3 separate regions of the Homo sapiens genome follow, and regions 1 and 2 are each linked to region 3. Evidence: promoter capture Hi-C in 16 types of primary human blood cells and fetal thymus (Javierre and others, 2016). All regions are on one chromosome and are shown on one strand. The core of a region is centred on a gene start or on the middle of the fragment in contact, and the rest is flanking DNA. Distances in the headings are between cores, read along the strand shown.

Region 1 (4,359 bases), core at 1,373-3,872, 470 kb before region 3:
GTTGCCTTCCCACATCAGCCATCAGCACCTTTGAAGAACTGAGCCCACCTCACTTGCTGTGGACACTGCAAGGATGACCTCGGCACAGAGCCCGCCCACTCCACAGCTGCACGCTGCCAGATGGAATCCCAGACCTGCTCTGTGACTGCAGGTGAGCAGGGACCTTAGAGATCATTTAATTCACCCTCTCATTTTGTTGATGTGAAACAGGCTCAGAGATGGGAATGGCTGGCCTGTGGTCACAGAGCAGGTCCCTAAACTGTGCCCTGGACCCACGTTGGCACAGCCTCCAGGCCCATGCAACACTGGAACTGAATCCAAATGGATTTCCAAAGGGCAAAGGCAAAGCTAACCTGGTTGCTTCTCCTGGATTCATTGGAACAACCAGCCAAGCAGCCCCAGAAGATCACTTCCTTCCACCTTTTGCCTAAAGTGGCACAGGATGGTCCCATTTGTGAAACCCTCCAGAGCCTCCCTTTGCCATCTGGACTCTGCCTCGCTGCTCAGCTGGAGTCCTGAGGCCTGAAAGACATTGCTAGCGCTGAAGTGCGTCCCCCTCAAAATTCATATCTTAGAGCTCCAACCACTAGGACCTCAAAATGTGACTGTTTTTGGAGATAGGGTCTTTAAAGAGGTGATTATACAAAAATGAGGTCACTAGGGTGGGCCCAAATCCAATTTGACTGGTGTCCTTATAAGAGGAAATTTGGACAGAGCCATTCTACAGGAGGAACCAGGACCTCCAGGGGTTGTGAAACTCAAACTCTGAGAGCCAACGGAGGAGCTGACCTGCCCAGGCGGCCCCTGCAGAGGGCCAGCACGCTCAACACCACGACCCTCCTGCAGCCCCGCGTGCTCATCAACAGAAGCTTTTCTCTCCTTAGATTATAGAAGACAGCTGTAGAAAATAAAAGCCAGTGCCCCCATCTCCTCAAGGACCAGGACTTTGCACATTACACACAAAACACAGCAGCACACATTGGCCCCTCCTGCAGACTCACACTATTGGGTGGATGCGCCCATGTTGGCCATAAACTGGATCCTATGACGGATCCTCATTTCGTTTCTGTAACATGCACTTTTCGTTTTTTAAACTCATCTGTTGGCAAGGTCTCTATTCCGGCAGTTTTGGATTGGATGACTTCCATCACGCCCCTCCCAGCTTCAGTCTCATGGTGGTTGCTCATCTCCTTCATTTACTTGGCATCTCCTTAAATTTACTCATATGTTTATCATTTATACAATTACTTTAGCTTAATTACAAGCAACACTAGCAAGAACTTCAAGTTTCAAGGTGCAAGTTACCTGCCCGCCAAGGCTGCATTAAAGCCTTATGTGAACATTATTATGCTCTGGGCCACAGGAATCATTTTGCACACTGCAACGGTCACTCAGCTGATCCCTGGGAAACACTAACTGCCTCGCTGCTGTGTTTGGGGGTCTGTTTTTATGGTTTAGCATTCCCTAACAGCTTTATTGGGGCACAGTTCAATACAATAAAATCCACTCATTGTAAGTTTACAGCTCAATGATTTTTAGTCACTGTATACAGTTCTGCAACCATCACCACAATCCACTTTTAAAACAGTTCCTTTGTCAGAAAAATTTCCTGCATCCCCATCTGCAGCCAACCCTGGCTCTCAGCCTCCAACCTAGACAACCAGTGATCTGGTTTCTGTCTGTATTGATCTGCCTTTCCTGTAAATTTCATATAAATTCCATTCATATAAACGATATGAGTGGAATTGCTATGTTGTAAGTTTCACTTTGCTATACCAAAAGGTTAAGCATACGGTTACTATACAACCCATCAACTCCAGTCCTCGGTATATACACAAGAGAATTGAAAACGTGTTTATGTAAAGAATTGTACTCAACTGTTTATGGTATCATTGTTCATGATAGCCAAAAAGTGGAAACAACATAAATGTCCATCAATTGATGAATGGATAAACCAAATGTGTATTGAAGCGGCCTCGTTGTCTGGGATAATACTCGAGGTTCATTGTCTCATGGTGATGGAGATCAAGGATGTGAACACACAAAGAGTGAGATTAAAAGCAGAAGATTTTTGTTTGTTTGTTTTGTTTTGTTTTTGAGATGGAGTCTCACTGTCACCCAGGCTGGAATGCAGTGGTGCCATCTCAGCTCACTGCAACCTCTGCCTCCCGGGTTCAAGCAATTCTCCTGCCTCAGCCTCCCAAGTAACTGGGATTACAGGCGTGTGCCACCACGCCCGGCTAGTTTTTGTATTTTTAGTAGAGATGGAGTTTCATCATGTTGGCCAGGCTGGTCTCGAACTCCTGACCTCCTGCCCACCTCGGCCTCCCAAAGTGCTGGGATTACAAGTGTGAGCCACCACACCTGGCCAAGAGCAGAAGTTTAATAGGTGAAAGAAAGATAACCACTCTGCTACAGAGAGGGGTCTCAGAAAAATGGGCTCCTGGATCCACAGTGAAATGCAGGGGGTGTTACTGATGAGCTGGTGAGGAGGTGGTGTCTGATCTACATCGGGCGAGAAAAACTGGGTGGACCAGGCGTGCCATTTGCATAGGCCACAAATCTCTGGTAGTCCCCATACTAATCTTTTATTACGCAGATGGGTTCTCTGCCTGAGCTGCCCCGTGTTCTCCATTTCTTTTCTTTTCTTTCTCTTTTTTTGCTAGTTTGTGTAATAATTTTACTGCATAAGAAATTACAGAGATTGCATAAATCATTAGGTCAACAGCATGCAGAGAACAACAAAGCAAAACATTGTTTGGATCAAATAAAAAACAGCAGGAACAACTCAATTCTTAAAAATACCATAAATGTGGCTCCATTTGAGAGAAAATTTTGCATTTTCTGGATAGAGTAATTTCTGTAGTTTCATTAAGCAAAAATGGAAAACAGCTTTTCAGTTAAAAACACTCAAAAGCAACTTGCACAGATGTGTTGCCCTCTTCACCCTGGATGTAACAAACATAAAGATGTGAGGCTGCCTGCCCTTGCCTAAAGCATGGCTTGAACTTTCTATTGATAGTAATCGATTATGCATAACCACCTATGTATTGAAATTGTGCAAGTCAGAGCATCCAAAACTACTGCAAGAGTCAATTTCTTCCTGTGGGGAACAGCATGTAGCTGTACTACATGTTAAAATTTCCATTCCTCGTTCGATTATTTGCCCTATTCCAGACATAAAAATACAAATAAATATTTTCTTACAAACGAAGTTCACAGTATATTGCTTTAAAAAAAGAGAGATTAAAAAAACAAGAATCTTAATTTGCTTTTTCATTAAATAAAAATGCTAACATACAGACACATTCAATATTTATACAAATTGTAGGAGTCAGTCTATCCTTTCTTGGTCATAATTGAAGTTTAATAGTGCTGGTCCATACACGACAAGGCTCAGATCCCAAATGTACGTTCAATTCTACTAAAAGTTGCTCAAGATAATTTTTTTCTCTTTTTCTGTTTAATTAAAAAAGACAATTTTGGAATTTTAGAATTACATTTGAGTTGTCTGAAAAAATACAATTTCAATGAAAAAATCATATCAAGCATTCAAGAGTATATTGCTGGTGCTATCATCTTTTTGCGCCGAAAAAAATCAATAAAATCACATGTCTGAGACTTTTAAATGGTTAAATGTAACCACATACTATTAAAGATATGCTCATGCACACACACACTCAGACTCCAAACATGAAGGAAAAAGGATCAGCGTCTTTCTGTTGCATTTGCATTCTCCTTAGTTCCTGATGCCGTGGGGTGAAGCTGCAAGGAGACTTCATAGCGTTTCTTGGCCGAGTCTAGGTGTCCCCAGCGATGATAAAGCACAGCCAAATTACCACGGTAACTTGAAGCATTTGGATTTGCTTTAATTGCCTTGAGGAGTCAGGCTTCCGATTCCTTGTATTTCTGGGATTTCCCCAGCACGTTTGCCAAGGAGAACACGAGAGAGTGATCATCAGGTATTAATTCCAGCGCGTCTCTTCCAACTGCCTCGGCTTGGGCTGCACTACCTGGGTCGTGAGCAGTGTAACCACGTTGTTCCAGGCCAGGCTGCGCGCTGGTTTCAGCTCGGTGCATTTCTCCACGCATTGAAGGCGTCCACCTGGCGATTGAGATCAGCAGACGCCGGAGGCTGTAGTAACGGTCTGGGTATTTCCTTCTGTTTACTCGCCGTCGGGTAACTTTGCTTGGCGGTTTCAAAGCGTTTCAGGCTGCTCCGCGCTATGCCTAGACTCATCCACGCAGCAGCAAAGTCTGGCTGCATTTGAACAGCCAAAGACAGCAGCTCCTCAGCTTCCTGTAGCTCATTCCTTTCTTTTAAGACATTTGCAAGATTATTCACGGCATGAACATACT
Region 2 (4,437 bases), core at 1,743-4,242, 440 kb after region 3:
TCTCCGAAATGATTGTTTTTACTCTTTTGTTTGTATGGTTAGTTTTCAGCCTCCCTTCTCTAAACCATGAGTTCCAGGGGGCAGGAACCCCATGTCGGGCTCTCTGCTATATTCCCAGCACCCAGCATGGTGCCCGGCACACATAGGCCCTAGGTAAGTGTCCACCCAATAGATGTCTCAGGGCAGTGGTGGGGTGAGGGGAGACTGAGTTGACGGCCCTAGGGATGGCTCACCCTCTGTCCCAATGCCCTCACTCAGGGATTAGCCCCGGGGCACGTTCTGGAGTGAGAAGTTGGGTGGGCAGGGTAGGGGCTGGGCAGGAGAGGTTCCTTGCTAGAGGGCACTCCTGGGTGGGCTATGAGGGGGCGGGAGCAGATACCTCCCAGGGCCCAGTGGTGGCACCTGCAGCCAGGGTCCCACAAAGCTGGAGGCTCAGGGCAGAACTCCACGCTGGCCGCGAGGCTCAAAAACCTTCCTGGTGTTGCATGAGCCGCGACTGCAGCTCATGCGTCTTCCTCAGCACAGGCCCAACTCTCGGCAGCGATGGGTCTGGCAGGGAGAGGACGCAGGAGACCTCAGGGGACACGGTCTTCTCCTTTGTCCCAGAGCAAAGCTCTGCCACCCTCACCCCTGTGGGACACGGAGCTGTGGCCATGAGCTAGTCCACACCCATGTTCCAGTTGCCCTGGCCTCATCCAAGCATCCCCTACCCTGCTCCCAGCAGGGCAATCATGCTTCAGTGGCCCCAGCCACTTGCTGGAGAAAGTTCTTTATCAGGGGACAGCAGCCTTTGCTCACAGAGCAAGGGTGAGCTGGGGAAAGACTGGCCTCACCACCCTGACCTGCACTTGGTTAGGAGGGCCGCTCAGTGCTGCCCAGACCCCAGAACAACACAGCTGAGTGGGTCAGCTCTTCTGAGGTGCCTCTTGCGGCCTCTCCTCCTAGACTCCTGGCTTCCTCCAGGCGACACCCTGGGACTGGACCTGAGGCTTAGGGGCATAGGGTGATAATCGGAGAAGATGCAGGGAGGGCCCAGTGCCTGCACCCTGAGGCGCATCTGTCTATCTGCTGGGAGCACACTGCTCACCCCTGACCAAGTGCCTGCCTCTGTTCCTCCTCCCTTTCCCCACACCTGACCCTTGGTCTCAGATGTCACCCTCCCTAGGGCCAGCCTCTGGCCCTGGCCCTGGCCCCAGCCCTGCTGTCTCCCTGCCTAGCTACCTGGCCCACATTCATTCTAATACATCTGTATGCCCTAGGCAGCTGCCTGCTCTCTCCAGGACTCAGTTTCCCTAACTGTTCAAGAAATGGGCTGGACTGTTGTTCTTAACCTGTCCATTCTTCCAGGAACAGCCTTCACGGAAGCTTGGAACAGCACCTTACTCCATCCTCAAAGCTGACACAGGACTAACTCTGCCTCAGCTCTAGTGAGACGACACCCAGGCCTGCTATTCCTGCTCCCTAGGTCTTTGGAAATGGCCTGAGCTCAGCTCCTCGGAGCCTGTGTGTGGCAGCCGCAGGCTGTCCTTGCAACTATCAGGCAGCTGTGCCCTCTCTGAGGTGTCAACCCAGGGCCATTCTGCCACAGAAAGACTGGGAGATAGGGGAGGCCAGTTTCTATGCACATAGGTTAAGTACCTGGATCTAGCCATTCCTCTAAGCAGTAAACCTTGGCTTTTTATGATCCACAAACCAGCTTTTTGCTCAAGCTGGTTGGGTTGAGTTTTGGGCCACATCTCATCAGGCAGGTCCTGACTAAAGCAGAGTGAGGTGAAGGCAGCTGGAACTTCCGTGTCGGGTGGGGACTTGGAGAACTTTTCTGGCTAGCTAGAGGATTGTAAATGCACCAATCAGCACTCTGTAAAAACGCACCAATCAGCACTCCGTGAAACGGACCAATCAGCAGGACATGGGTGGGGACAAATAAGGGAATAAAAGCTGCCCGCCCACCCCTCGCCAGCCAGCAACAGCGGCGACCGGCTGTGGTCTTTTTCCCTGCTGTGGAAGCTTTGTTCTCTTGCTCTTCACAAGACATTTTGCTGCTACGCACTCTTTGGGTCTGCACCACCTTTTTCTTTTCTTTTCTTTTTTTTTTTTTTTGAGATGGAGTCTTGCTCTGTCGCCCAGGCTACAGTGCAGTGGTGCAATCTCTGCTCACTGCAAGCTCCACCTCCCCGGGTTCACGCCCTTCTCCTGCCTCAGCCTCCCGAATAGCTGGGACCACAAGCGCCCACCACCAAACCTGGCTAATTTTTTTGTATTTTTAGTACAGACAGGGTTTCACCGTCGCACCACCTTTAAGAGCTGTAACACTCACTGCCAAGGTCCCTGGCTCATTCTTGAAGTCAGCCAGACCAGGAACCCAGCGGAAGGGACAAACTGCGGACACAGGAGGACAGGTGTCCTGACCTCTATGCTGGGACCAACCAGGGAACTTTTCACTGAAGACCCAGTTCAAGGAGGCCACTGGATCCTGTTAGAGCCCCTCTCCCTTTCTAAAAGTGAAATCATGCATCGCCATCCTCCCAGAACCCCGGTGTCTTCAAAGTGGTGTCCACCCTCCCTGGGGGCCACGGGAGAGCGCCGAGAAGGTTGGGGAGGGGGGGTGTCCACCCAGGGATGTCCCATTGGGGGACACAGACAACCTAGGTGGCCAGTCCAGAGAACCGGGCCGGGCCCAGTCTTGAGGAGAGAGGGTGAACTGGGTTTTGGGGCGCCAGAGGCCCACCAGGTGAGGTGTAGGCTGGGGCAGCTGGGGCGCAGAGTCCGCCAGGGTCCGCGCGCGGGAGGGCAGCGTCTGACGGCCCGAGCGGGTGGTCCTGGCGCGGGGGGCCAGCCGCCGCGGAGGCCTGAACGCAGGGCGGGACGCTTGGCTCCGCGGCCGGGGCACGGAGGGCCCTGGTGTGCAGCGCCGCCCGCGGGCTCCCGCAGCTCCACCCCCGCGCCCCGCCCGCTCCGCGCTGCCTGAGTGCCACGAGGGGGCGCAGCGCCGCGTTGCTCCGGGGCCGCCGCCAGGCGCTCGTGCGGGCTGCGCTGGGAGCCGGGCGGTCGGGCGGCGGCGGCGGCGGCGGCGGCGGCGGCGGCGGCGGCGGGCGGCGCCCCGGTCCGCGGCGCCGAGGCTCGCACCGGGAGCTGCCCATGGGCCGGGCCCGGAGTTCCGGCGCGCCGGGAGCCGGTGAGTGGTGCGCGGCCGAGGGACACCTGGCGGTGCGGGCAAGGGCGCGGGCTCGCGGGGGCTGGGGAGGGCTGCCGGCGGCGCGGCGGGGTCGGCGGGAGGCGGGAGGCTGCGCGCGGCGCGGGAGCGTGCGCCGGGGTCAGCAGGGGCGGGGTCCGCGCGGCCGCCGGGACTGGAGGCGCGGGGGTAGCGGGTAGGGTACCCTGAGGGCACACCCCCGGCCACCTGGCGGGAGACCCAGCTCTGCCGCGCGCCGCCAGCCCCTGCTGGGCGCGAGGAGCAAGCTTCTTTCAGCCGCTAGAGTGGCAGGAAGAGCCAGCCTAGACCAAAGCCTCCACCCGCACCGGACCTCAGTTTCCCCGTCTATGAAATGGGGACGGGAAAGCAGACCTGCCGGTGCACGTGCAGAAGGGAAAGGGCCTTGCGCCTGGGGGAAGAGGGTGCTGTCACCCTTGAGGATGGGATCGGATTTGAGGAAAGGACCAGCGCCACTATCAGAGGGCCTGCGAGAACAGTGGGGTCTGCTGGGAGTCCTGGGTGTGTCCCTCACGCAGTGACAGCGGACGGCATCAAGGGACCACCTGGTCCACTCATTGTATTTAGATTGGGAAAGCGATGCTTGGGGGGACTTGGGGAAGGGTGCTGGCGACGCCGCCCCATGCTCAGCGTGGGCGTGGGAAACTGTGGGAAAGACAGAGCTGGGAAGTTGGGGTGCTGGTGGAGCTCTTCCGGGCCCGTATCTCCTGCCTCCTGGGGCTGTGGGAGAGACAGAAGTTCTGAGCCCCGGGAGCCTGAGAAGAGTCCTGGGAAGCTCTGCCTGCCAGGCAGGTGGAGTAACTGAGGTTTAGAGAGGGGCGGGACCATGGAGTGGCAACGCTGGGGTCCCACCTCTGGTAAGACTGGCTCCAACAGCCATAGTGCAGCCACTGTGCAGGCGACCGGTGGAGGGGGGCTAGGGTTGTCCACTCACTGGCCACATTCATTGAGCGCCTACTGTGTGCCGCCTGCTGCCTGCCCCCGTAAGTGCTCACTAGCTGGTGTGGGAGGGGACACCAAACAAGAAATCAAAGGCAAAAGCAAGGACATGGCCAAGATCTTATGCGTGCTGGGAAGAACATGCAGTAGGGTGACTGGGGCAGAGGGAGACCAGGGCGCGGCGGAGCCTTCGTCTGGTCAGGGAGGCTGTCCTGAGCGGGGAGCCCAGCCTGTGATGGACGGGTAGCCCGGGGGAACAGCGCGGGTGAGATCCCTGAGGGCAGGAG
Region 3 (4,114 bases), core at 660-3,159:
GCACATCTGTGGTCCCAGCTACTTGGGAGGCTGAGGTGGGAGGATCATTTGAGCCCGGGGGGTGCTGAGGCTGCGGTGAGCAGATATCATGTCACTGCACTCCAGCCTGGGTGACAAAGTGAGACCCTGTCTAAAACAACAACAACAACAAAAAAAAAACAAGTATATTCTGGGCGGGGCACAGTGGCTCATGCCTATAATCCCAGCACTTTGGGAGGCTGAGGTTGGCAGATCAGGAAGTCAGGAGTTTGAGACCAGCCTGGTCAACATGGTTAAACCCCCATCTCTACTAAAAATACAAAAATTAGCCGGGCATGGTGCCGGGTGCCTGGAATCACAGCTACTCAGGAGGCTGAGGCGGGAGAATTGCTTGACCCCAGGAGGCAGAGGTTGCATTGCAGTGCAGTGAGATCGTCCCACTGCACTCCAGCCTGGGCAACAAAAGAGAGACTTTGAGAAAAAAAAAAAAAAGTACATTCTGAAAAAAAAAGCAAAACATATATTTTGATGATAAAATGATAAACAAAAGCAGGGAAATGATAATGCCAGGGTAGTGGGCATCTTCTGGGGTTGGTGAGGGGTTTGTGATGGGAAGTGAGGGGATGTGGGGATGTCATTCTACATCCCTTGGCCTGGAGAATGGAAACACAGGTATTTGTTGCTTTAAAATTCAGGTTTATAATATGCTGATATATTATGTACTTTCCATAAGTGTGTTACATCTCATAATCTTTCAAAGCTAAAAAAAATCAATATATGATTGATAAATACCTAACTTCATGTATCGCTTGGTTACCTAGTTTCCCCAACCTTATTTGTTAAATTATCTACACTATCCGCACTGATTTGTGATTCCAGCTTAATAATATAGCCACTTCTTACCTGGATTGGAGAGAGCTGGTAGTGGTTATTGAAAATCTACTCTTGCTTTTTGGCGAGGATGAAAGGGCTTTGGGGGGCGGGGGTGGGGGGATGGAAAATGTGAATGAAACGAAAAGCAGGGAAGGAGGTTGAGACAGTCATGGTCATGGGCTTCATTATTAAACAGGAAAATTCTAGAGACAAACTGAAAAGAGAACGGAAGTCTGTAAGAGGGTTGCCAAGTCAGAAAGCAAAAGCAAAGTGTCGCTTTATTAAAAAGGTGGGGGCGGGTCCTGATTGAGCTGAGAACAAAACATCTGGGGGAGTTCTAAAGCTAGGAGGCCAGGCCTGCAGGGAGGGGGTCGGTCATCCCGGGTGTCCCGCTCACGGGTGCGGCTTCCGTCGACACTGTCCGTCGACACTGTGCAGGTAAACACTGCTGAACGGGTTTTGTTTTTGCTTTTTTTTTTTTTTTTTTGGCTCCCAGACTGGAGTGCAGTGGCGCGATCTCGGCTCACTGCAACCTCCTTCTCCCGGGTTCAAGCGATTCTCCTGCCTCAGCCCCCCCGAGAAGCTGGGATTACAGGCGCGCACAACCAAGCTCGGCGTATTATTTTATTTATTTGCTTGTTTATTTTTGAGACTGGGTCTCCCTATGTTACGCCGGCTGGTGCCACTATTTTCAAAGATGTAACATACTATTTTTACAAGGATTGCTTTCTTGTTTAGTCTAGATTTTACCGATGGAAAGAAAGGACGGAAAAGAGCGCGTGCCGCATTTTGCTCCCCTTTGCCCACCAGGCTCCATCACCTCCGGAGCGCATCGCGAGACCGTCTGCGTTACCCGCGTCCCCGCGCCCGGAGCCGCCCAGGAGGGGGCCCGGACCCTGTGGTGCGGAGCGCGCACTGCTCGGGTGCACCGGACGCCCCGCGGCGGGCTGGGAGGGACGGGGGGAGGGGGGCGCGGGGAGCGGCCTGAATCCCGGGCCCGCCTCCGGCCCCCGCCCCGCCCCGCCCCGCCCCAGGCCAGCCGGCGCCCGCGCGGACACTTTCAGCCCCGAGCCGCGGCCGCTCGGGTCGGACCCACGCGCAGCGGCCGGAGATGCAGCGGGGCGCCGCGCTGTGCCTGCGACTGTGGCTCTGCCTGGGACTCCTGGACGGTGAGCGCGGCGAACGGGCCACCCGCCCGAGCGTGGGGCTGGCCGGGGAGGGGGTACCGCGCACCTGGGGCGGGCGCTGAGACCGCTCCGCCGGGTACGGGCGGGGGACACGGTGGCCCTGGTGCGCGGACGCCTGAGGGGAGCACGGCGCTTGGGGCGCGGGACCTCGGGATGAGGAAGGGGCGGGCGGGGACCGCAGCCGGGTCAGGGCCAGGGCGGCCGGGCCGCGCCTCGGCGCAGGGGTAGCTCTCCCGGCCCCTGAATCCGCGTCTCCGTCGGTGGCTCCGCGTCCTCGGAGCCGGGCCCTGCCGGGCTGCGCGCTGAGCCCGGATCCTTCGCGCCCTTACTCGCTTCCCCGCGGGGTCCCCGCGCCGCGCCGTCCCGACCCACGCGCGCCGGAGATCCATCCCGGCCGGGCCCCGGACTTGGGTGCGCACTTCCCGACGCCCAGCGCCTCCGCTCGCGGTCGGTCCCCCAGAGGGCGCTCGAGGCGGGCTTCCCCCTCCCCGTGGCCGGCGACGGCGGGGACAGGGGCCGGGGACCACCGCGCGCCCGAGGCGGACGGGTGCAGGTGCACGCTGGCACTTGAGACGAATCTTGAGGAGGCGAATCGCGGGCTGTCAGCGCCGCAGAAGGGGCGGAAGGCCAGGGGTCCCCGGATTTGAGGGGACAGGGGCCTCGAAGGCCAGCTGAGGAGCAGAGGCCCCCGCGGGAGGGTCCCCTGCACAGGAGAGGCGGGGTTCGGTTTGTGTTGGGATGTGGCTCTGGCGGGGAGAGACGCAGACCTGAAGCGGAGGCGGAGGGGTTGGAAAGAGGGACTGTGGGGGATGAGCGGGCGGCAGAGGGAGTGGATGGAGATGTCAGGGAGGAAGCTGAGAAGATGAGCTGGGAGTCCCCACGGAGCTGGTGTCCCTGGAAATCAAAGGGTGTAAGGGCGGGGTCAGGGGTTCCAGTGTCTGAAGCCCTGAAGTCAGCGACGGGGACCTCAACATTTCTGCACGCCATAGGAATTAAATACTGGCTTTACATGCTTGTAATTCTCACAGGGAGTGTCAGACCCATTTTACACATGGAGAAGCTTAGACCAAGGACATGTGTCACTTCCCCAAGGTCCCCAGGAGGCCCAAAGTAAGCCTGACAAAGCCTGCCTTTGCTCACCACCTGTATGTCCACTGGCTGAAGGGCAGAGGACAGGAGAGGGGGCAGGTCTGGCTCAACCAGGGGAGGAGGGAGGAGAACATCTATCTGGGCCTCCGAGTCGGGCAGGCCAGATCAGGGCGCTGCCCTTGGCCCTCCTGGACCCAGCCCAGGACCAGGCTCCCACAGGTGCTCAGGATGTATTTGTCGAGTGGCTGGTAGACCTTGGTTGGACTGCAGGGCTGTAGAATGGGAGACGCTTATCCTGGAGGAGACATGGGACAGGCACCTGGGCGCAGTGTCTGAGCTGGGCTGAGTAGCTGGAGAGGAAGAGAGAGACCCGGGAGGGGAACCCTGGAGGAGGGGCCCAGAGGGCAAGGGGGCTTCCAGGGATCCAGGGAACATTCTGCAGGTATAAGGAGAACCAGGAGAGGCCAGTGTCCTGGTGCTCCCGGGTGGAGCACAGAGGGACGTGGGGTGAAGGGTGAGGAAGCTATTCCCTGCAGTAAGTAGTGACTCTTAGTGACCCAGTTATGAAGAGGAGAGAGGGCATTAGTTGGGCGCCCCATGGAGAGGGGTGTCCTGGGCTGGACCTGGGTTTGGCTGGTGGGGAGATGGCAATGAAGACAGAGGTCATCCCTCCGTGAGCCCTGCACCTTGCTGTACCCCCTGCTAGGCTGAAGACCCCGGGAGCCCCCAGCTTGATGGGGGATGCCATGGCGGAAGCACAAGCCCTCAGCTGCAGTCGGGTGTCAGGGCAGCTGGTCCGGTGGGAGCTGCAGTCGGGTGTCAGGGCAGCTGGTCCGGTGGGAGCAGGCCAGAAGCCTGAGCATCCTGAAGCTGACCCCTTAAAAGTGTGCTATTGATCATAGAACCAGACTCTTGTCCTGCCTCTGCCGTAAAGTCCTTTCTGTGTGACCTGGGCCCCCTCCTTTCCCCTCCCTGCACCTCAGTTT

Evidence for each region. Contacts are between HindIII fragments. The CHiCAGO score rates a contact against its expected background, and 5 or more counts as called.
Region 1: a fragment that was not itself captured here is called in contact with the fragment with the promoter of FLT4 in region 3 in 1 of 17 cell types (neutrophils); the score reaches 5.2 in neutrophils.
Region 2: a contact is called between the fragment with the promoter of RASGEF1C here and the fragment with the promoter of FLT4 in region 3, in 2 of 17 cell types (erythroblasts and endothelial precursors). The highest score is 11.6, in erythroblasts.

The regions. Positions count from the first base shown.
Region 1 is chr5:181,115,019-181,119,377 of GRCh38, reverse strand. It overlaps the pseudogene LOC729707. Among named protein-coding and RNA genes, the nearest start is that of OR2V1, 14 kb to the left of the region's middle. The HindIII fragment of the contact is 3,501 bases long and covers 872-4,359 here.
Region 2 is chr5:180,207,766-180,212,202 of GRCh38, reverse strand. It overlaps RASGEF1C (RasGEF domain family member 1C), which reads left to right and starts at 2,992. Exons shown (of 14, transcript NM_175062.4): 1 at 2,992-3,175. RefSeq lists a silencer at 2,857-3,076 and an enhancer at 4,201-4,437. The HindIII fragment of the contact is 1,452 bases long and covers 2,010-3,461 here.
Region 3 is chr5:180,647,395-180,651,508 of GRCh38, reverse strand. FLT4 (fms related receptor tyrosine kinase 4) reads left to right here and starts at 1,909. Exons shown (of 30, transcript NM_182925.5): 1 at 1,909-2,021. The coding sequence starts at 1,964. The HindIII fragment of the contact is 6,264 bases long and covers 1-3,101 here.